Linked DNA regions of Homo sapiens: regions 1, 2, 3, 4 and 5 are each linked to region 6. Evidence: promoter capture Hi-C in human tissues and cell types (Jung and others, 2019). All regions are on one chromosome and are shown on one strand. The core of a region is centred on a gene start or on the middle of the fragment in contact, and the rest is flanking DNA. Distances in the headings are between cores, read along the strand shown.

Region 1 (3,478 bases), core at 260-2,759, 600 kb after region 6:
CCCTCTCTGGGCTGGCCGACACTGGAGCCGGCTCCCTCTGCTTGCGGGGAGGTGTGGAGGGAGAACCACAGGCGGGAACCTGGGCTGTGCATGGTGCTGGCGGGCCAGTGCGAGTTCTGGGTGGGCGGGGGCTCAGCAGGCTCCGCGCTCCCAGCAGCAAGCTAGTGCCGACGGCACTGCCCTGGGCAGTGAGGTGCTTAGCATCTGGGCCAGCAGCTGCAGAGGGTGCGCCAGGTCCCCCAGCACTGCCAGCCTGCCCACATCGAGCTCGGATTCTTGCCAGGCCTCAGCTGCCTCCCCACGGGGCAGGGCTCGGGACCCGCAGCCTGTCATGCCCGAGCCCCGCAACTGGTGGGCTCCCGCCAAGCCTCCCTGATGGGTGAAGGCTCCTGCTCCATGACATCCGGTCCCATCGACCACCCAAGGGCTGAGGAGTGTGAGCGTGCAGTGCAGGACTGGCGGGCAGCTCCGCCCTTGGCCCCAGGCGTGGGATCCACTAGGCAAAGCCAGCTGGGCTCCTGAGTTGGGTGGGGACTTAGAGAACTTTTATGTCTAGCTAAAGGGTTGTAAATGCACCAATCGGCACTCTGTGTCTAGCTAAAGGTTTGTAAATGCACCAATCAGTGCTCTGTGTCTAGCTAATCTAGTGGGGACTTGGAGAACTTGTGTCTACCTAAAAGATTGTAAATGCACCAATTAGCTCTGTGTCTAGCTCAAGGTTTGTAAAGGCACCAGTCAGTGCTCTGTGTCTAGTTAATCTATTGGGGACTTGGAAAACTTCTGTGTCTACCTAAAGGATTGTAAATGCACCAATCAGCACTCTGTGTCTGGCTCAAGGTTTGTAAACGCACCAATCAACACCCTGTGAAAACGGACCAATCAGCTCTCTGTACAATGGGCCAATCAGCTCTCTGTAAAATGGGCCAATCAGCTGTCTGTAAAATGGACCAATCAGCAGGATGTGGGTGGAGTCAAGGGAATAAAAGCAGGCTGCCCAAAGCAGCAATGGCAACCCACTTGGGTCCGCTTGCATGGTGTGGAAGCTTTGTTCTTCGCAATGAATCTTGCCGCTGCTCACTCTGGGTCCACGCTGCCTTTATGAGCTGTTAAGACTTACCACAAAGGTCTGCAGCTTCACTCCTGAAGCCAACGAGACCACGAACCCACCAGGAGGAATGAACAACTCTGGCCGCGCTGCCTTTAAGAGCTGTAACACTCACCGTGAGGGTCTGCTGCTTCATTCTTGAAGTCAGCGAAACCAAGAACCCACCAATTCCCGACACAGCACTAGTATAAAAATAGGTATATGTAGGAAACAAATGGCTAAAAAAAATTTTAAAAAGGAATAAAGTAACAATAAAAAAGGATAGGTATATAGATCAATGGAATAAAGCTGAATGTCTAAAAATTACAACTTTATGATCTCATGATTTTATAAGAATGTCAATTTAATGCAATATGGAAACTTTTTGATCAAGTGTTGTTGGGTCAAGGGGATCTCTATGAGTTGAACTATTTAATCTGACACACATACATGTATATTAATGACTCAAATTATGATTAACTTAAATACAAGAAATAAATAGGCTTAACCCATAGAAAGTCACATAGGAATACATGCAGCTTCAGGTTAAACAATGGTTTCTATGATATGAATGCACACGCACCAGAAACTGAAGAAAAAATAGATACATTAAAATTTTTCTGAATTAAACAGTTTTGTGACTCAAAGTATACCATTAAGTAAAAAGACTCACAAAATATTGAAGAAAATCATTGCAAGCCATGTAGCTAATTAAGCTTCTCCTATGCAGAATATATAAAAGCATCTTAACAACTCAAAAATCAAAAGGCACATATCCCAATCAAAAAAGGTAAACTATTTGAATAGTTATTTCTCTAAAGAAGTGATTGTCATGTACAATACGCACATCAAAAGATGCTCAATGCTTTTTCTCATAAAAAAATGCAAATCGCACCTGTAATCCCAGCTACTCAGGAGGCTGAGGCAGGAGAATCGCTTGAACCCGGGAGGTGGAAGTTGCAATGAGCCAAGATTGTGTCATTGCACTCCAGCCTGGAAGACAGAGTGAGACTCTGTCTCAGGGGGAAAAAAAAGCATTTCAAAACAACTAAGAGATATACTTCACAAACTTAGAAGTCATATTGATATGTAATTACTTTTTAAAGTCTTTTCAACTTATATTCATGTGGCTATTTATCTTGTGATAAATCTGACATCATATTCTGGGAAAGGCAAACATGTAGAGATAGTAAAGCAGTAAAGTTTAGTGGTTACAATGGCATCAGGAGAGGAAATGCCAGTAAATCTTAAGTACAGAGGATTTGTTTTGGGCAGTAAAATTATTCTGTATGATACTGTAAGTGCGGATACATAACACTGATTTTCAAATTCTAACTTACATTATTACTAAGAATGAGCATAAAAGTATGCAAATTAAAAACCTTATTCAGTAGGTAGGGGTATCCCAGGAGGAAATGCAGGCAAAAATTAAATACAACTATATAATAACTATAAGACATAACTTCATTGAATGGAGTGGGGAATGAGGGACTGACCTATGAAACAGGAAATAAATGGAGATGCTGAGTCTTAAAGGTTTTGTACATAAGCACTGCACTTTAATTGGCAAAATTCTTTCTCATGGGAACATTACCAATTCTAAACTCACTATATATGTACATATGCATGGGCATTCCTAATTCAAAAATCAAAATTTCAACATTTAAAATGCCATTCAGCAGAATGCCTCCTCATCCATATGGGATGTGCTTCCTGGTTCCTCAACTGTTTGATTTTTCTTCTCACCTATTAAAATAAAATATGATGTATAGTAAGCTTTAAATCAAAACATAACATCACAGGAGGAGGCAGAAAACATGCCATCATTTGTTATTTATGGTAAAGGTACAGTCATGCATTGCTCAATGAATGAGAGTTCTGAGAAATGGGTTAGGTGGCTTCATCATATGTGAACATCCTAGTGTACACATAGAAACCTGGAGAGTATATAGCCTATTGCCCTTAAGCTACAAATCTGTATAACATATTATTATACTAAATACTGCACACAATTGTAACACAATCGTACCTGTTATTCTAAACACACCTCAACACAGAAAAGATACAGTGAAAATGTGGTATAAAAGATAAAAAATTGGTCACCTGTCTAGGGCACTTATCATGAACGGAGCTTGCAGGACTGGAAGTTTCACTGGGTGAGTCAATGAGGAAGTGGTGAGTGAATGTGAAGGCTAGGATATTACTGTACATGAATGTAGACTTCATAAACAGTGTATACTGAGACTAAAATAAAATTATAAAAATATTTCCCTATATTCAGTTATAAAAATGTATCTTAGTGTAGCTGTTTAACTTTAAAACTTGGTTTTTTAACATTTTGACTGTTTTGTAATAACACATTGTACAGATGTAAAAAAATTTCTTTATATTCAT
Region 2 (3,388 bases), core at 777-3,276, 660 kb after region 6:
CACAATTACCTATGCCGTATTGAATTTGATGCCATGCCACTTTTAATTTGTCTGATCGCCACCTGTACAGTGATCATGTGCCTAAGTCTCTTTTTTTCATTATATACTTAGAGGTGTGTTTGTGAAGTGTAAGCTGCTTCTGGTGTCTGTTTAATTGTAAAATCACTTTCCTGTTTTACTATAATTATTAGGGGTACTTGTGGTATCTCCCATTTATTGTCCAATTTTCTGCTGCATTGTAGAGGTGGTACTGAAGTGTCCCATGAGTTGTCTGGATTTCTGTGTTGCTTTAGTTGGGGTGTGTTTTGTGTGCAATGGTTATATTCCCTGATAATGCATCTACTTGATTATAAAAATTTAAGGTCTCTGAATTATATTTTTGTTGTACTGTTGTATGATAAGTATCTTAATTCTGTTTGATAACTCACTTCCTCCCAATAAAACTTGGACCATATATCTTTACCATTAATTTTAAAATCATTTTGTATCTATTTGTGTGACCATAGGTTTATTTCATTTGCAACTGCCCATGAGTCTGTAAAAATGCAAATTTTATGTTGTTTTTCTAATACTGAGTCTCTGACTGCTAGAACATCTGCAATCAGTCCTGCACTCTGTGCAGAGAGTAACTGATCTGCTTCCTTCAGGATTGTGTGGTCCTGGGATCTGAGTGCTGCTTTGTCCATTGGATCTGGCTTTGGGTCACGGAGGCTCATCCGTCTGTAAACCAGGTGTTGAGCAAGACATTAGACCAGACAGGGCCCCATTTGCCGAGATTGACATGGATTGTCCCTGTCCTCAGAATACATTCTGGCAAGTCTATTTCAGTCTTGACAATCTCCTCAGTGAGGAGACCTGGTTGACCCTTAAGGCCAGTGTTTCAACCCTGGATGCACCATTTTCAGGTGAGCAGCTTTAATCAATTTGGATACCTGTCAATTCTTCAGGACTCAGTTTTATCCAGTGAAGGAGAGCCACATAGCATCTAACTGTAATGATGTTGTTGCCAGGCAAAAGCTCAGTATCTTAAGTACATGTAGGCCATGTACATTTTTCAAATGGGCTTTTAATTTGTTGTTAGTGTGAAAATTTTATTGTACAAAATCCCACTGGCAGGAAGAATTTAGAATCTAATTTCTTTGTCCACAATGACCATGGACCTTTCCACATTCAGCACGCATCAGAATTTCCAACCAAAGTTGTGAATCAGAAGATGGATGATGCAAAGTGTGAAATGTGTTAATGTAGCCTTTCAGTGTTGCAAGTGCTTATGTTTGTTTTTGTCCCCACACGAACTTGGAAATTCTTAGTTGTCTTATGTATTGGTTTTAGGATGATGTTTAAATAGGCATATGCTGTCTCCCATATCCAAATAAACCTACTAATCTTTGCCCTACATGTTAATTGATGCCTTAGGGGCTTTTATCTATCATTATCATCATTACTTTTCTCCCTTCTAATGGCTGTTGTACTCCTTAAAATTTGCATTTGGTGTCTGGGCCTGTGGTTTGTCTATATGAATAGTCTATCTCAGTGATCTTAAAAGCAATATTAATTGGGATGTTTCTTGTTTAACATTTATCTGGCCATTGTGTTAACATTTAATGTCATGTATGTATATTATTAATGATGTGTATTTTAATTCATCTATGAGTGATGATAAAATACAGTGGGCTGGCCAGGCGCGGTGGCTCACACCTGTAATGCCAGCACTTTGGGAGGCAGGCGGATCACGAGGTCAGGAGATCCAAACCGGATATCCTAACACGGTGAAACCCTGTCTCTACTAAAAATACAAAAAAAAAAAAAAAAAATTAGCCGGGCATGGTGGCAGGCGCCTGTAGTCCCATCTACTCGGGAGGCTGAGGTAGGAGAATGGCGTGAACCTGGGAGGCGGAGCCTACAGTGAGCTGAGATTGCGCCACTGCACTCCAGCCTGGGCAACAGAGCAAGACTCCGTCTCAAAAAAAAAAAAAAAAAAAATACAGTGGGCTGTTTAATTGCCTTGCATTAAACTTTTAAATTAGTATTTTTTGTCTTTGTAAATAAAGTTGGTATATTCCTGGTTTTCTTTACTGGTAAAACAAAGACACTATCTAACAAGTCTATGGTTACATAGTCTTTTTGATTATAGTAAGAAATTGTAATAATAAATTCTACATCTGGTAATGTTTCTGGCATTTTAGGTGAGACTTTATTTAAATTGGTATCATCAATAGTTCATCTATAGCTCTCATTTGGTTTCAGGACAGGCCATACTGGACAATTAAAGTTATTCAATATGCCCATTATAGTAATATCTTCTTTGAGGAGTCCACATCCTTTGCTTTTATTTCTTCATGTATTCCCTGTAATGGGTACTGTTTAGTGTATGTAGCCTGGTGGGGTGTAGTCACTGTTAGAGGTTTCATTTTAATTTGTGTTAGGTCAGAGAACTTTCATTCCTTTAGTTTCTTAATAAGCCACCTCAGGTTTAAAAGCTTTGCAATCAATCCATTTCTGTAATGTTTTCTAATTTTGGTGAACAGTAAAACATGCAAGAAATACATTTATAGTGCATATAGAAGCAGAGACTGGGGAGACTCTAGTTAATATTCCTCAGTCCTTTATAGAGATGTTTGTATCAAAGTGTGGTACGCTGTATCTAAGGAGGCTTATTTGTCATCTGGTGTCTAAAAGAAATGTGTCCATATGTGTATATTTGTCTATCTCTATAGCCAGTGTATATATGTCCTGTGATCCCCAAGTTCAAGTATTATAGCCTGGGGGGGTCCAAGATTTAAGAAAAAAATGTCTTGTAAAATTTCTGTTTTCACTGCTGTTTCTGAAGAGGTGGGTTTAGTCTTGGAATTCAGGAGTGTCTTTCCCGTTATTTTGGTATCCGGATGGTGGCCTTAGATGGTCCTGTTGCCAGTTTGGCCTTTATGTCCTTGCTTGCCAATCATTTTGTTTAGATTGTGAATTACTTTACATGGGTTACCAATTTCTCTATGTTGGTTTATTTTGCCAAGGTATACAGCCCAATTTTAAATAAAATTTGAGACTTTTATATTGAACATAAATTTAATTTTAGTGCCTTCCAGGGTTTATTTCTTAGTATTTGTATTAGGTTTGTAATAAATATTACCTTATAGGCAGCTGATTTATCTGCCAAAAGTTTGAGTGTTTCCAGTGTATCTTACATGTTTGTCCATGCTGAGAGAGTGTTCCTTTAGGAGACTTTCAGGTTAGGAGGTACTCATAATAGGTGCTCTTAATTTCATTTGAAGCTAGAATTTCAAATGAGTGGCATATCACTTCTAGCTATAATATACCAATTGTAAAATGACTAATTTCCTTATATTTCTTTGTGGCTGATGGTAAATCATTGCATTTGAGTCCACCTCTA
Region 3 (3,752 bases), core at 116-2,615, 560 kb after region 6:
CCAGAATAATTTTAGATCATTATATTGATTGTTACCTTTCTTGTACAGTAGACATGTGTTATTGAGTTTCAGCGACTCATTCTGTATGAATGCTTCACTCACAAGAGGATGTGTTGTCAACATAGTCGTGTTCGAATTAAGACACTCCTCACTGCAAGCTCTCAATAAATTCTGGTCTGTTTGTTGGAGTCCTGCTAAATTATATCTGAAAATGGGGCTTTTTGAGACATGTGAGTAATAGGCATCTGTCTTTCAAAAAATCGTTACGTAGTTAGCACCAGATGCTAAAACTGGTGACTGAAAAATGCGGAATATGATGAAGAAGATGAAAGAGGATGAGTCTCTGGAACTTGGGGGGATCTTCCTGAAGCAAGTGTACCGGTGTTCAAGTTGGTAAATCAATATGGAAGGATGCTTTGCTATTCTCTCTCTACATGCCCTTTCATCTCCTGAGCTGAAGCTATTCTGTCTGTGCTTTGGAATTTTTTTCATATCACATTTAATACTTTTTTCAAAAACATTTTTTCTTTGAAATAATTTTAAATACACAGAAATATGCACAGATAGTACAGAAAGCTTTAGACATCTTTGAATTACATGCAACGTAATAGATTATGTAACCATGAGCCCTAAAAAATAGTTGGCACAAAACTATTTATTGAAGTATAGGCTTTTTCCATATTTTACTAGGCTTTTAAGTAAAAAATGTCATTTTTCTGTCCAGGATACCACATTGCATTGACTGTCAGGTGTATTATTTATTGCTGAATAACAAATTGTCACACACTAAGTGGCTCTTACTCACGGTTTCTCTGTATCATGAATCCAGATGTAGATGATGGCCAAGGATGAGGTCTCAAGTGAAGGTTCAGCTGGGGAAGGCTCCTCTTCCAAGTTCGTGTGATTGTTGTTAGGAGTCAAGGCCCTGTGCTGGTTGAGATGACTTCACTGGTGAACTATTCCAAACCTGAAAATAATTAATAAAAATCTATCACAAACTCTTCATAAAAATTTAAACAACTGTAAAAGTGGAGAAGATATCACTTCCTGATGTATACTATTAGTTAGTTTACACTGACATTACAACTAAAGCAAGACATTTCATGAAAGAAAAATTAAGGCCAATATGTTTTATAAATAAAGGGTAAATGTCTTCAATAAAATGCTAGCAATACAAATCAGCAAATGTAAAAAGAATTATACACCATCATCAAGGGTATTTGTCTCAGGAATGCAAATTTGGTTCAACATATAAAATAATTAGTGTCATGACCTATAAGAATAAAATAAAAAACAAAAGCCATATGATCATCTCAAAAGATGCAGGAAAGGCACCTGACAAATCCAAAATCCATTTTTGATAACAGTATACAACAAATTAAGCCTATAAGGAAAGTTTCTTTATTTTAAAGGGCATCCATGAAAAACTCAGTATCATCATAATTTAATTTAAAGGCTCAATAATAGTATAAACTTGGACATACAGGTCAAAGGAATATAGTAGAATTCAATGTCCAAAAATTAATCTTTACCTTTATAGTCAAATGATTTTATAAGGTTGCCAAGCCAATTCAATATGGAAAAATATATTTGTAACAAATGTTGCTAGGACAATTGAATATCCACAAGCAAGTTGAACTTCTCACTCATACCATATACATAATTGGCTCAAAATAATCATATATCCAAATGTAAGATCTAAATAGACCAAACCCTTAGAAGATAATATAGAAATACATAATTTGGGTCTTAGGTTAAACAATAACTCCTATAATTTCTAAGATATGATACTTAAAGCCCAAGAAAAGGAAATAAAAAATGAATATATTTAACTTTGTGAGAAGTAAAATCTTCTGAGACTCAAAGTACATAATTAAAAGTAAAAAGATAATGCAAAGAATAGAAGAAAATCTTCACAATCACATAGCAGAAAACAATCTATTAGCCACAATATATAAAATATTTTACAACTCAAAAAGGCAAATATCACAATCAAATTGGTGAACTATCTGAACTGACATGTATCCAAAGATACTATAGTCACGTCTAGTAAGCACATCATATGAGGTCTAAGTCTTTTGTCATTAGGAACATGCAACTCTAAACAACCATGAGATACATTTCACAAATCTAAAGGGTATATTGCAAAAAAAAGTAAATTTAAAAAGGCAAAATATTTGTGTGATTTTGGTCGTGTGACACTCTGCAATGTGAAAAAGTATACAGATAATAAAATGTTTGGTATTTACTAGGAGCTTGGAAAAGAGGCAGGTCAAATTGGTGAGGTACAGCAGATTTGCTCTAGGCAGTGAAATTATTCTGGTATCATACTGTAATGATAAATGCATGATTATATTTTAGAAATCCTAAATAACTTTATAATACAAAAAATGAATTTAAAATATACAAATTAAAAACCTCCTAGAGTAGGTGGCAGATAGCATGGGGCTATACACATAATAGAATGAAATAACACATCAGTGAAATAACCTCACTGAATGGAGTGGTGGAAAAGCAACTGACCCAAGGAACGTAGCAAGTAAGTGGATACTCTGAGTCTAAAGGGTAAAGATTTATCCCTAAAAACTTTAGTTGGTAAAGTTATTTCTCATGGCCATATACATTTCTAATTCTGAAACCACTTATACAAGTCTTTCAGATTATGTGATTAAATAACAGAAGCATCTTTATCACTGTTAGTGTGGTAGGCTACATACAAGTAAGCGGGAATAGGTGCAGTGATTCACGTGGTACTGGATTAGATCATGGGGTGCTGGAGGATTATTAGGAATTCATGTTTAACTTAAAGATACAGATACATGATAAAATATTTGTGTGCGTGTGTATGTCTCTGTGTGTGTGTGTGTGTGTGTGTGTGTGTGAATCAGTGTACATAGATGTATTTGCTCTGTCAGCACACAAGATCACGAATCAACAGATGCCCCAGGAGCAATGAATATGCCAAGAGCCCAGATCTCCATTTCTAATTCAATTTTCCCATAAAAAGAACTAGGTCTCTGTGAAAAAAAAAATGTTTAATATCAGGCTTGTGAGGAAATCCACACAATTAGCTTAAGCACCTAGTAGTGCCAGAAAAAATAAAACGCCAAACAACAGTGCAAACAACTAACCAACCACATAACAACAGCGAAGTTTCATTATGGTAGTCTTTCAAAATGACAAACGATCCAACTGAAAGACCTTCCAATAGCCAACAGTGCAAACATCTAACCAACCATATAACAACAGCGAAGTTTCATTATGGTAGTGTTTCAAAATGACAAACGATCCAACTTAAAGACCTTCCAATAGCCAACACTGCAACAATTTAAACAAATAAATGAAGTAGTAGAAGGAAAGAGTAAAACAAATATCCATGTTTGCATACTGATAAAAATGACTGCATAAATACAACGATGATTGGAGGAGAATAGACACTTTCAGGATGAAAGGTCCAAATAACTTTTGGTAAACATTCTGCTCATAAAGTGGAGCATTTTTTGTTTTGTTTTGTTTTTTGTTTTTCAAAATGGCAGATTGGAGACTTTGTTAGTGTGCCTCACCTGCTTAGAAAGAGCAAAATAGTATCTAGAGATTCACACTGTGAATTTGTATGCAACAAACCCAGGAACTCAACAGAAAAAGTGAAAGAACCTGTTGAAAGGAGCAGCAGGCAGCAACTTGCACCATGTGTCAGATGGACAACTGAGCCTTCAGAGTGCAAAAGGAGGAGACTCTCTCTGTGTTACATT
Region 4 (3,930 bases), core at 966-3,465, 690 kb after region 6:
CCCTAAAACTTAAAGTATAATAATAAAAGAAAAAAAATTTGGCAAATAACTTTGCTGAACTGTGTCCATGCCAAGGGCTTTGTAAAGACACTGACTACTGACTGAAGAACTAGGTAATCTGGCAGAAAAAATTTCTAAAGCCACAAAGTGTTCATATTACTTCTAAGCTGTGTGTGTGGTTACTTCTAACTGCTTAAGGTGAACTGCTAGAGAAAACACACACAAACACACACACACACACACACACACACACACACACAGAAAAATTCTAAAAATTTTCAGCCTAGCCATGTGGTAGAGAATGAAAGAGCATTTTCAGGAGAAAAATCCAAGGATGTCGCAGAGCCATAGCTTGCCAGAAATTACAATGGCTAAAGCACAGCCAGCTGTTAGTAGTCAAGACAACGGGAAAGAGGCCCCTACAACCATTTCAGTCATTTTCTAGGCTGCCTCATCCATTGCAGGCCGACAGGCCTAAGGGGACAGGGTGGTTTCTGGGGACAGCCTGGGCCACTGCCCTGCACATTGTTAGGATGTTGCTCTGCTCATTCCAGATGCTTACCATAAACCCAGGTGGAGCTTATGTCCCAGAGCTCTGGGAGGTACAAGCCCTAAACCTTGGAGGTGTCCATGTGGTGCTAATCATGTAGGCTTACAGAAATGAAGATATGTAGAGGCTTGGCAGTTTCTACAAATTTCAAAGGATTTCTCTGAAAGCCTGGAAGTCCAAAAAGACACTTGTCACAGGGCCAGATCCACTGAAGAGAGTCCCAAATAGAGGGATGCCAAACACAAATGTGGGGTTAGAGCTACTGCAAGGGGTGCCCACCAGGGCAATGCTAAGTGAAGCCACAGCAGTGAGGTCACTGCAGAGTTCCATGTGGGTAATGCTTAGCAAAGTTGAGGAAGTGGTACCACTACCGGGACCCCCCAGAAATGTGTAGTCACCTACAGCATGCAATGTCTGCCCTGGAAAACTTCATGTACCTGACTGCAACCTGTACAAGCACCCACGGAGAATGTACCAAGCAAAGCCATAGGAGTGATAGTACCCGAGGGCCTGTGAGTCCAACCTTTACCCCAGTGTGTTCAGGAGTCAGAGAAAGAGTCAAAAAAATATTCCCCAGCTTTAAGATGTAATGGTTGCCCTGCTCGATTTCAAATTTGCTTGAAGACTGTTACTTTTTGTCCATTTCTCTCTTTTAGAAAGGGAATGTGTACATTATGCTTATCCTGAAATTGCCTTTGCAAAAATGGTAACAGAAAATTATGACAGTGAAAGAGAGATGACCTAAGTTGACGCCATCTTGCCTTTTAACCTCTAAGCTGCCTTTGTTCATTCCTGGGAAAAGGCCAAACTAACTTTGGGAGGAATTTAGTTGCTAGCTTAACTTTGAAACGAAGATGACAAGAGAACCTCCCTGAAACAAATCCCCTCATTGTTTGGGGACTAGACCACTCCTGCAAACACACGAAAATAACCACAAGATTAGAAAGTATTACTCAGGAGTCATAAAGCCAGAGGCCACAAGACTATTAACCTCCCCAGCGGCTCCTATAGATAACCTATTAATACAGTAAAACCTAAGATTGTAGTTTGAGGGATTTTTCGGACCTTGTATTCTGATGAATCAGCTGGTGCTTCCCGAAACAGTAACCTGTCTCATCTGGACTTGTGGCCCCCACACAGGAACTGACACAATGCAAGAGGAGATGTCCTCCTGTTGCCTATCTGTCCTCCTATCTGCTTACTATAATTTCATCTCTGACCCAAATAATCTAAATTCCCCATTCTCCAGCCTCCTGCATTCCAAATTATCTACAAAAAAATCCTAACCTCAGATTTTTTTGGAAGCTTGCTTTGAGTAATAATATAAATCTTGTCTCTTGTTTACCTGGCTCTACAAGTATCAAACCCTTTCTCTATAGTAATTCCCCTCTTGATAAATTGGCTCCATCTGGGCATCAGTCAAGATGAACCCATGAGGCCATTACAAACTTAGGAGCTCATAGGGATATATCCCTTGTGTTTGCCAATCTCTCACTAGTGGCAGATCTGGAGAACAGCCCAATTTTCTGCCTAGTTCTCTTCAAATAAAGGCTGTCTCTGGCACTGTATCTACCAGCAGGGTGCTACTTACCCACAGTGTATGGATCTAACTGGAATAGAGAAATAATTCCTGGAATGAAAAATGTTAGCTGGTTTGGTGAGTATTCCACTTCTCCTGATCTGTTGGCCCCTCTAGAGGCATTGCAGCTCTATCATGGGAACTGTCCAGCTCTCCCTAGATTGCAGGAAGAGGCTCTGTTGGCCTCAAAGGTACTGTGGCCCCATCATGGGGTCTGCCTGTATCTCCCTGAATTGTAGTAAGAGTCTTGGTTTGAGGAGATTTCTCTCTCCAGTTGGAAGGGAATAGGGGACACGTTTGGAGGAATACTCTTCTGGTTTGGATTTGATCAGAAATTTTGGTTTGGAAGGCCTTCTGTTTTTCTGTATTTCATTGAGGGAGTTTGCATGTATGGAGGAGATCTCTGAAGAAATTGTTGATGGAATTACTGCAGGCTTTCCTAGTTTGTCTGATCATTCGGGTTTAGTGAGCGTTACAGGAACTGCTAGCAGGAGCTGAATAGGTCTAACTGAGGGTGACCATCCACCCTTCCATGTTACCTGGGGAGCACCCATTGAAACTACTTTTTGGAGGTCATCTCTCCCTATCTTGAGTGGATCAAAGATGACAGGGGCCAATGGCAACAAGTTAAAGCTTTGCCAAATCAATACTTTGATGGTGAGTGGGGTGATTAGTATCTGTATTTTGTCACATGCATTTTGCTCTGGCCAACATGAGGAGTGTTAATTTGGTTCCCATTGCGGCCCACTGGGTGGCATCTTGCAAAATTTTGTAACACAGCTTGGCCCCCACAGATATGGTGCAGAAAACAGGGTCATCAAAAGTTGCTCCATTCTCCTGGAAGCTGCAAAGGGAACTTGGAAAACTGGCAAGCTAGCAAAAAAGTAAAAATTTCTTACCAGCCAACCTCTCCCTGTGCAAAACCAGTGGAATGAATTGTAAAAGTCACTGTTTGTCTCCTCTGCAAGTTTTGATTAGAAGAAAAACAGATCTATGTGACTAAACTTTTTGTCATTCGGTTGTCAATCTGTCATAGAGAGGAGTACCACAGAATAGAACGTAGGCCTAAGACCCCTAAAAACTCAGTGTTTGAGCTGGCCCTGCGCACTGGTTAGTTACAAACTTTCTTGCAGGTTCCTGAAAAAAAAAAAAAGTGACATTTTCCTCTTTTCTCATTTTTTGTCCTTGAGAACTTAACTTTGTAACCATGTGAGAGTACTGTCCCTTTTTCTCCCACATATGGAGGGTTGGAATTTTTTATTCATGTCAGGCACCCAGTCTGAAAGGACACATTGAAGTCACAGCTTCTCTATGTCTGTTTATTGATATGCTTCATAAGTATAATATTTCACTACCAAAATATTTAAAAGAGCTCTAATGAATTGGCATGTCTATATAATGCACTTAAATATTTTATCACAAGAAAATTAACTACATTGCCTTTTAGTTCACATGACTCTAATAATCTGTGAATAATAAAGACAGTTTTATAGATTATTGGTAAAATAAAATTAAAATGTCTTCAATATTTAAATATTTGGTCTAAATTAGGCAGGTCAGATACTGTCTTTGCCAAATGATTTAAGGTTATAAACTGCTTCTGAGACTTTTTATAATTGCCTAATCTGCCTGCATTAGAGGCATTAGCTTCTAGATAAGGACTGGGGGACATGTTGAGTTAGCTATGCCCTGTAACTATGCTGGAAAGGGTCCGATATTATCTACAGTTCTGTCCTGTGTCCTAGGCTCTGTACTTGGTACAAAATTAACACTGAGTTCACTAAAAATAAAAGTTGTTAAG
Region 5 (3,386 bases), core at 512-3,011, 780 kb after region 6:
GTCTTTCCTAATAAAAGTGATCTTCCCTTTCAACTTAGGAAAAAGTGATGCTTGAAAAGATGAAAATAATTGAAAAAGATTTTTTGAAACATTATTATGAATGTATTTTTAAATACAGATATGAAAGGTATTAATATACAATATAAACATACAAATTCAGTTGTAGATAATGTTTATATATGCCCCCCTAAAATATACATAAGTGTTGAAGATATGTGCATGCCAAGACAAACAGCGAGAGCATATATTTCAAAGCAAGGCCTGAGTGGGCATGTGTTTGGGGTCAGCAAGCAAGATGATTGTTGAACAAACTTGATCTTTATGCAAAATAATGGAATTGCCCAATCGACCTCAGAGAGAAGGCAGGGGGCAACTGGTCTTGCTCCTGCAGATCCCACAACAGGCTCTGAGCTCAGATGCACAGGCTGTGGCCCCATCCTTGGCAGATGTGGTCCAGAGAAGGAGCAGGACCAACCATCGGAGCATCTGTGCTTCCAAGGGAGACACGCAGAGGTGTCTGTGTATGTTCCTTCCCTGCTGGCTGCTGCTCTCAGAGTAGAAAGTTCCTAAGGCTCCAGAAAGCAGGGAAGGGAAATGAGGAGGCGAGAGATTGAATGAAATTCAGCGAGAATGTACTAAAAAAAAACAAAGTTGGAAGTGGCATGGGAGGACTGCCTAAGATTCACAAGGGTGTTAAAGACATAAGCAACAGTTAGTAGTGTTGTAAAATTCTAAAATATCCTTATTTGCGGTACAACTGGGAATATCAGTGTAGGTACAGGGCATGGAGGTTTTACTCTTCTTTTTCTTTATGACACCATAACACAGTGTTTAAGAAAATGGGCTTTGAGGGAAAAATTCTTCTGTTAAATGAACTTTCTTAAGAACAAGACAGTGTGGTATGTGCACAGAGATAGAAAAATAAATCAATGAAAAAAATAAGAGAGTTAAAACACACACACACACACACACACACACACACACACACATATGCATATCTAAGCAATTTATAAAGGAGAAAATTGGGAAAAGACTAGTTATCAATACTGTTCCAGGAAATGGAATATCCATACAGGGGAAATAAAATCTGACCTTTGAGCTCATGTTACACACAAAAAGCAATTCCAGGTGGATCACAAACTTCAAATACAAAAACAATTTCCAGTAGTTAGACCCTAACTTAGGAAAATAACTTTATTACCGTGATATTTCTTTTCTTTCTTTTTTTTTTTTTTTGAGATGGAGTCTCGCTGAAGTGCAGTGGCACAATCTCGGCTAGCTGCAACATCTGCCTCCCATGTTCAAGTGATTCTCCTGTCTCAGCCTCCTGAGTAGCTGGGATTACAGGCATGCACCACCATGCCTGGCTACTTTTGGTATTTTTAGTAGAGACGGGGTTTCACCACGTTGGCCAGGCTGGTCTTGAACTCCTGACCTAAGTGATCCGCCCGCCTTGGTCCCCCAAGTGCTGGGATTACAGGCGTGAGCCACCATGCCCGGCCAATATTTCTTAAAGTAAGACCTGAAAGTATGTTTCATGTGAGGAAAAAGGTATGCTACTATTGTTGATGTCAGCAAAGACTCTAGAGATAGGCAGAATAAAGCCTAAGCTTCTTTCATTCCTTTCTTGTGGATCTTTAGGCTCAGCTTCAGAACTGAAACATGAGTGTGATCGTAATCCCTATATCTTGGCATGCTGTGAGGATTACTAATAATACTCAAAGCCTGTGATGAATAGAAGGTATATACTAACTACTAAATTAGTAGTTGATAATACTGACAGCTTTTTCTAAGTAATTGCAATATGTATCATTTGCACCAATTGAATGATGTATCATTACTTTATATATGACACTGGAATAATAAAACTACTTACCGATTATGCCACAGATCATTCTTATCACTTAACATTTTTTCTTATAATTGTTGAAAAAACTTTTCAATCTATATAAATGTAGACATTTGTCTTATATAAATCGTGTGATTACATGAGATGGAAACTATAAGCAGAATACATTAACAAAGTGAATTCTGAAATATCTCCCATGAAAAGATAAAGTTTTCTGAAATAGTTTTTAATTCATCCTCTCCATGATTTGTCCCATACAAACATCATTTGTCCTTATCAGAAGCTGTGATGATGCCACTTTTGTTATGAGGGTCACGTGACAGTCTCCATGAGATTATCTTTCCAAAATACTTACAGCCCCTCTGCAACTTTTGATGTTGATGATCTCACTGGAATGTGTCAATGGAAGGTTTTTAGACCAAGTGCATGTTCACATGAGGCTAATCACATCATGACTGCCTCCTCACAGTGGTGTTTTCATTATCATTTTTGAGATACAACCCTATTTGAGAAATGTGAGTTGTATAATCTGGCTTCAATGAAATACACTATTTTTTCTCTGTGACTCCTTCCTCCTCACTGTAAAATCATGGGGTTTATCTGCTGTATTTTGGTCTATTATTGAGAAACTTTTTTTTTTTTTTGAGATGTAGTCTTGCTCTGTCGCCAGGCTGGAGTGCAGTGGCATGATCTCAGCTCACTGCAACCTCTGCCTCCTGGGTTCAATCAATTCCCCTGCCTCAGCCTCCCAAGTAGCTGTGACTACAGGTGCCCGCCATCACACCCAGCTAATTTTTTGTATTTTAGTAGAGACGGGGTTTCACCATGTTGGCCAGGATGGTCTCCATCTCCTGACCTCCTGATCCGCCCACCTGGGACTCACAAAGTGCTGGGATTACAGGCATGAGCCACCGCACCCAGCCGAGAAAACATTCTTAAATATAGTTTAATATATATTGGCCAACTCCATTTGTCTTCTACTGAGGGATTAGAGATTTTAGAGTTATTAGTAGATTACTGGAACTCTTAAGTACTATAGTAAATTATTATAACTTTATATTGCTCAGGCATCCATTTTGAATAGAGATTTAACTTATTCAAAAAGCAGGGTTTAATCACCTAAGGCAAGGTTGCTAGTTTTTCACCTTCTCCCTGTTCCTTGGTGGGGTCTATCCAGACCCCTTCCACAACCTTCCACAACCACATCCTGGTGATGGCCTCTGTGGGACAGCTAGGTATAACACTTGTCTCACTTGGCTGACCCCTCACAACCCACATTTACTATGCAGTTATGCCTCAGTGACCCCCTCAGTCACAGTGTGCCCCCCAGAGCTCTTACCTACTTGCTCTAAACCCACCACTTAGAACTCCCCAATGGAAGCCTGTATGAGTCATGCGCTGAACCCCAGTAGACGCTTTGGCCCTCTGGTCACTCCCTGTTTCTCTCTCTTGCTCACCTCCAGCTGGCTGCCTGTAATCGTCCCAGATGAATTTTCCCTTCCAGCTGCCCTGGAAGGGAATGCTGCCCTGTTCTCTC
Region 6 (3,646 bases), core at 983-3,482:
AGACTGCAAGATGACAGCCTTGGAAGGAGGAGTGGTATGCATAGCATTGGTTTCAATGGGAGGTTTGGATGATGATGCTGTAGAGGCACTGTTCACTAAAGTGGAGGTGTCTGGAGGAGGAATGATGGGAAGGCTCAGGAAAACACAGGCACTGGGGAGAGAAGCTTTCTGCGGCTGCCCATCAGGAGCCTCAAATTTGGGCTGAGGGGTGGCTTCTTTTCCAAAGAGTTGGTTAAAACTTGGGGTGGTATTGTGGAATATAAATGGAAGTGGGGATGTGTAGACTGATGTCTTTCCCGGGTGCCTCTGCTCTGCACTGCAATGTATTTGGGAATTTGGGAGAGAGCTCACTCTGGAGCTTAGGGAAGATGTGAAAATAACAACCTGAGATGGGGCAGTAGTATCCATATTAACTACTTCAGGGTCTACCGCAGTCTGTGAGGTTAGGTGGGCAGATGCGTTTGTTGTGACAGTGGAAATGACTGACGTGGAATTCATAGGCTTGCTGGTGATAACTGAGGTCCCGGTGGAAGGGACTGGAAGAAGAGTCAGGAAGGAAAGAGGAGGAGGGGAATCCACACACATAGATATTGGGGACTCCCTTGTGACGGGAGGCTTGAAGGAGGGTGTGGAGCTAGGAGGTGTTGGGGGGTCAGAAGTGAGAGGCGCTGCTCCTACGACTGAATTATAAGAGCCTCCTTTCTCATTAGACTGATCACCCAAAATGGGAACAAGGTCAGCAGGAAGAGCCAGAGGAGAGTTAGGGATTGTGAATGCTATTTTCTCATCCATTTTTGGTGTGGTGGAAAGTGGAGGGATAGGCAGGATGAGGGGTCCAGTAGCCAGGTCAGCCAAGTCAGGGATGGGCAAAGGAGCTGAGACCTGGGAAGTGTAAGTGGTCAGGGGCAGGGAGTCTGTGGTCTGCACAGGTTGGGAGAAAGAAGGGGCAGGCTGGGTGATGCTGCTGTTTGTCATGGTCTCTGTTTTATCCTCCAAGATTCTGCTATTCCTTTTATACTCAGGGCTCTTCTCCAAGGTGTGTAGGTCTCCCTCAACAGACAGGCAGGGGAGCTTAGCAGGTGGGGGAAGCTCACCTCGATCCCACAGCAATGGCAGTGAAGGGGGCAGCGGCAGCAGCAATGGAATCGACATTTTCCTTTTGCAGGGCCTGTTGCGGGCAGCTCTGGGAGGAGCAGCGCTCCTTGGAGGAATACAGAAAGGCTTCTCATCAGGCATCCTCTTTCCGGACATCAGCGGAATCGGCAAGCCTAGGGAGCTGGGCGGTGGCTCTTCATTCAGCACTTCCGCAGCCAACTTCTGCTGCAGCAGGGAGCAGCCAACGGCTGGCTCAGGGGGCGCTGTTGCATCCGGATCAGGCTTTCCAAGATGCCGGGCACATCCGGCCTGGCTGTGTGTGCTGGGCATGGCAGGGCCTTCCAAGCAGGAGCTCGCTGGAGACGCCTGGGCCTTCTCACTCATGCTGTTTTCTGAGAACTTGTGGTAGACATTTCCCTCCAGAGGCCCAGGGCTGCATCTGAAGGAGGCCACGTCTCCCTGGGTGCCCTGGGACCTGGATGTGGACGATGCTTCTCCGCTGCTAAGGGGGGTCCTTTTCTCGTCATCCTCCCCTTCGATCTGCACCGGATCCTCATCCTTCTTCACTCTTCTGGGCCCTTCTTGGGCCCACACCTCGGTCTCCTCCAGGAGAGTGGCTGGGATGGGCTTCCTGGCCTTGACCGCCGGCTCACGTGGTGAAGGCAGCAGGAGAGTGAACATGCGGCTGGGAGGAGGGATCCTTACGGAACTGGGGTGTCCAAACCTCGGGGGGTTCCGAGCAGGCAGCATGGGTGTCTTCCTGATGGCCAGCCCCCAACCCACAGCCGGCAGGACCCCCAGAGGGGCGGCCGCAGCCCGAGGGAGAGGACACGGCCTCTTAGGGGCGACGAAGATGCTGGCTGCTGAAGGCCTGCGACGGGCGTTCCGGCGGAACAGGCCGCGGAAAGGGCGCGGGGTGGGTACAGAGTGAGCCCGACCGGGCGGGGAGGCGTCCCGGGACAGGGGAGCGGGGGCGCCACGCCCTGGCCCTGGCAGGGGCCGGCGGCGGCACCCGGGTCTAAATTTACTAAGTAAATTGCCCATTTAGAGCTAGCCGTGCCTCCTACCGTAAAACAGGGTCAGCAGTGGACTCAACTCTCCTCAGCCACCGCCTCCTCTGGCGACCAAGCACAAACTGACTGGCTCTACGCCTGCGACGCCGCCGCGAGGTTCCTCACAGAACCAGGGAGCGCCAGCGGGGGCGCAAAAGGCAGGGGTCAGAGGGCAAAGGGCGACGCCCCGTCGGCCCCAGCTGCCCCAGGACCCCCGGAAGCCCCGCTGCCGGTGGCAGGTGTTGCACCGCGTGGCCTCTATGAGGGAACTGCTGGGGCCTGCGGGCCCATCGCCAGAGCTCTTGTCACCTGGGCGCCGGCTCTGCCTGTTCCTTAGCCCTGGCCCGGCGCTGTTGCACGCAGTGGCCCTGTGTCGGCCGTCCCCATTCCCCGGTTCACAGAGGGCACATCTGCTTCAAGTTAAGCACAGGACAACCTATATCCTGCCAGCCTCCTCTAGGACCTTGGCAGTGCTCTGTGCTGCCTGGAGCCAGGTGTGCCGTCTCTGTGGCGCCAGGGTCACCAGCCAGGCCGTGAGGGTTTCCGAGGAGGGGACGTGGTGCCTTGTCCTGACTAGATGCTACGCCCTACCACATCTCTTCCTGGCAGGCAGGGCCTCTTCACTTCTTTTCACAAATTTGTTTTAAACAACATTTAAGGCTGGGCGCGGTGGCTCACGCCTTTAATCCCAGCACTTTGGGAGGCCAAGGCGGGTGGATCACCTGAGGTCAGGAGTTCGAGACCAGCCTGACCACCATGGTGAAACCCCATCTCTACTAAAAATACAAAAATTAACTGAGCGTGGTGGCACGCACTTGTAATCCCAGCTACTAGGGAGGCTGAGGCAGGAGAATCGCTTGAAAGCGGGAGGTGGAGGTTGCAGTGAGCTGAGATCACCTCACTGCACTCCAGCCTGGGGGAACAGAGCAAAACTCTTGTCTCAAACAAAAACAAAAACAAAAAACCACAACAAACAACAGCAACAACATTTAAGCCTTAGGCTGCTTGCTCCTTGGGTCATTGATATGACAGTGGCCTAGCCAGGCTTCGAACCTGGGCTGTGTGATTCCAGAGCTGGTGCCGTGGCCTGTGTGCCTCCTTGTTATGGACACATCATGTATTCTCATTATTTCCTGTAGTCCTTAGGGTACCTAGCACACAGCACATCTGTATTAAGCACATGCGTTCCTAGGGGGAAGCCCTTACTTCACCTCATAAGTTGGTCATGGCAGGCACTGGGCTCCAGTCTCCTCTGAAGACATGGGGCAGCGACCCCCAATAGTCAGCAAAGCAGCATCCCACACTGTTCTTCTAATTGAGCCTTGCAGCCCAGATTTCCTTTTTGGTCTAGTTTGAAGGATCTAAATATGTAAAGATTATAGTCCAGATCCATTTTGGCCTATCCCGAAAGAAATTCACCAGTGGATTAATCCAAATGGATAAGCCAGTTCTCTGGCCTTCTTGGAATATGTTAGAAAGCAAATTCATCATGTATTTGC

Evidence for each region. Contacts are between HindIII fragments. The study calls those that stand out against the background at their distance.
Region 1: a fragment that was not itself captured here is called in contact with the fragment with the promoter of NPAP1 in region 6 in 5 of the 25 tissues and cell types used here (adrenal gland, dorsolateral prefrontal cortex, mesenchymal stem cells and 2 more).
Region 2: a fragment that was not itself captured here is called in contact with the fragment with the promoter of NPAP1 in region 6 in 1 of the 25 tissues and cell types used here (lymphoblastoid cells).
Region 3: a fragment that was not itself captured here is called in contact with the fragment with the promoter of NPAP1 in region 6 in 3 of the 25 tissues and cell types used here (lymphoblastoid cells, mesenchymal stem cells and mesendoderm cells).
Region 4: a fragment that was not itself captured here is called in contact with the fragment with the promoter of NPAP1 in region 6 in 2 of the 25 tissues and cell types used here (dorsolateral prefrontal cortex and mesendoderm cells).
Region 5: a fragment that was not itself captured here is called in contact with the fragment with the promoter of NPAP1 in region 6 in 7 of the 25 tissues and cell types used here (H1 embryonic stem cells, dorsolateral prefrontal cortex, heart left ventricle and 4 more).

The regions. Positions count from the first base shown.
Region 1 is chr15:24,075,396-24,078,873 of GRCh38, reverse strand. The region is part of intron 4 of PWRN4 (Prader-Willi region non-protein coding RNA 4); the gene reads right to left. Among named protein-coding and RNA genes, the nearest start is that of PWRN2, 93 kb to the left of the region's middle. The HindIII fragment of the contact is 4,554 bases long and covers 1-3,478 here.
Region 2 is chr15:24,012,681-24,016,068 of GRCh38, reverse strand. All of the region lies in intron 4 of PWRN4 (Prader-Willi region non-protein coding RNA 4), which reads right to left. Among named protein-coding and RNA genes, the nearest start is that of PWRN4, 39 kb to the right of the region's middle. The HindIII fragment of the contact is 7,333 bases long and covers 1-3,388 here.
Region 3 is chr15:24,108,573-24,112,324 of GRCh38, reverse strand. It overlaps a transcript of LOC105370733 not described here. Among named protein-coding and RNA genes, the nearest start is that of PWRN2, 59 kb to the left of the region's middle. The HindIII fragment of the contact is 6,456 bases long and covers 1-3,752 here.
Region 4 is chr15:23,988,821-23,992,750 of GRCh38, reverse strand. All of the region lies in intron 3 of PWRN4 (Prader-Willi region non-protein coding RNA 4), which reads right to left. Among named protein-coding and RNA genes, the nearest start is that of PWRN4, 16 kb to the right of the region's middle. The HindIII fragment of the contact is 5,439 bases long and covers 1-3,930 here.
Region 5 is chr15:23,889,196-23,892,581 of GRCh38, reverse strand. No RefSeq gene overlaps it. Among named protein-coding and RNA genes, the nearest start is that of PWRN4, 84 kb to the left of the region's middle. The HindIII fragment of the contact is 6,351 bases long and covers 1-3,386 here.
Region 6 is chr15:24,674,361-24,678,006 of GRCh38, reverse strand. It overlaps NPAP1 (nuclear pore associated protein 1), which reads right to left and starts at 2,232. Exons shown (of 1, transcript NM_018958.3): 1 at 1-2,232. The coding sequence starts at 2,139. The HindIII fragment of the contact is 8,790 bases long and covers 1-3,646 here.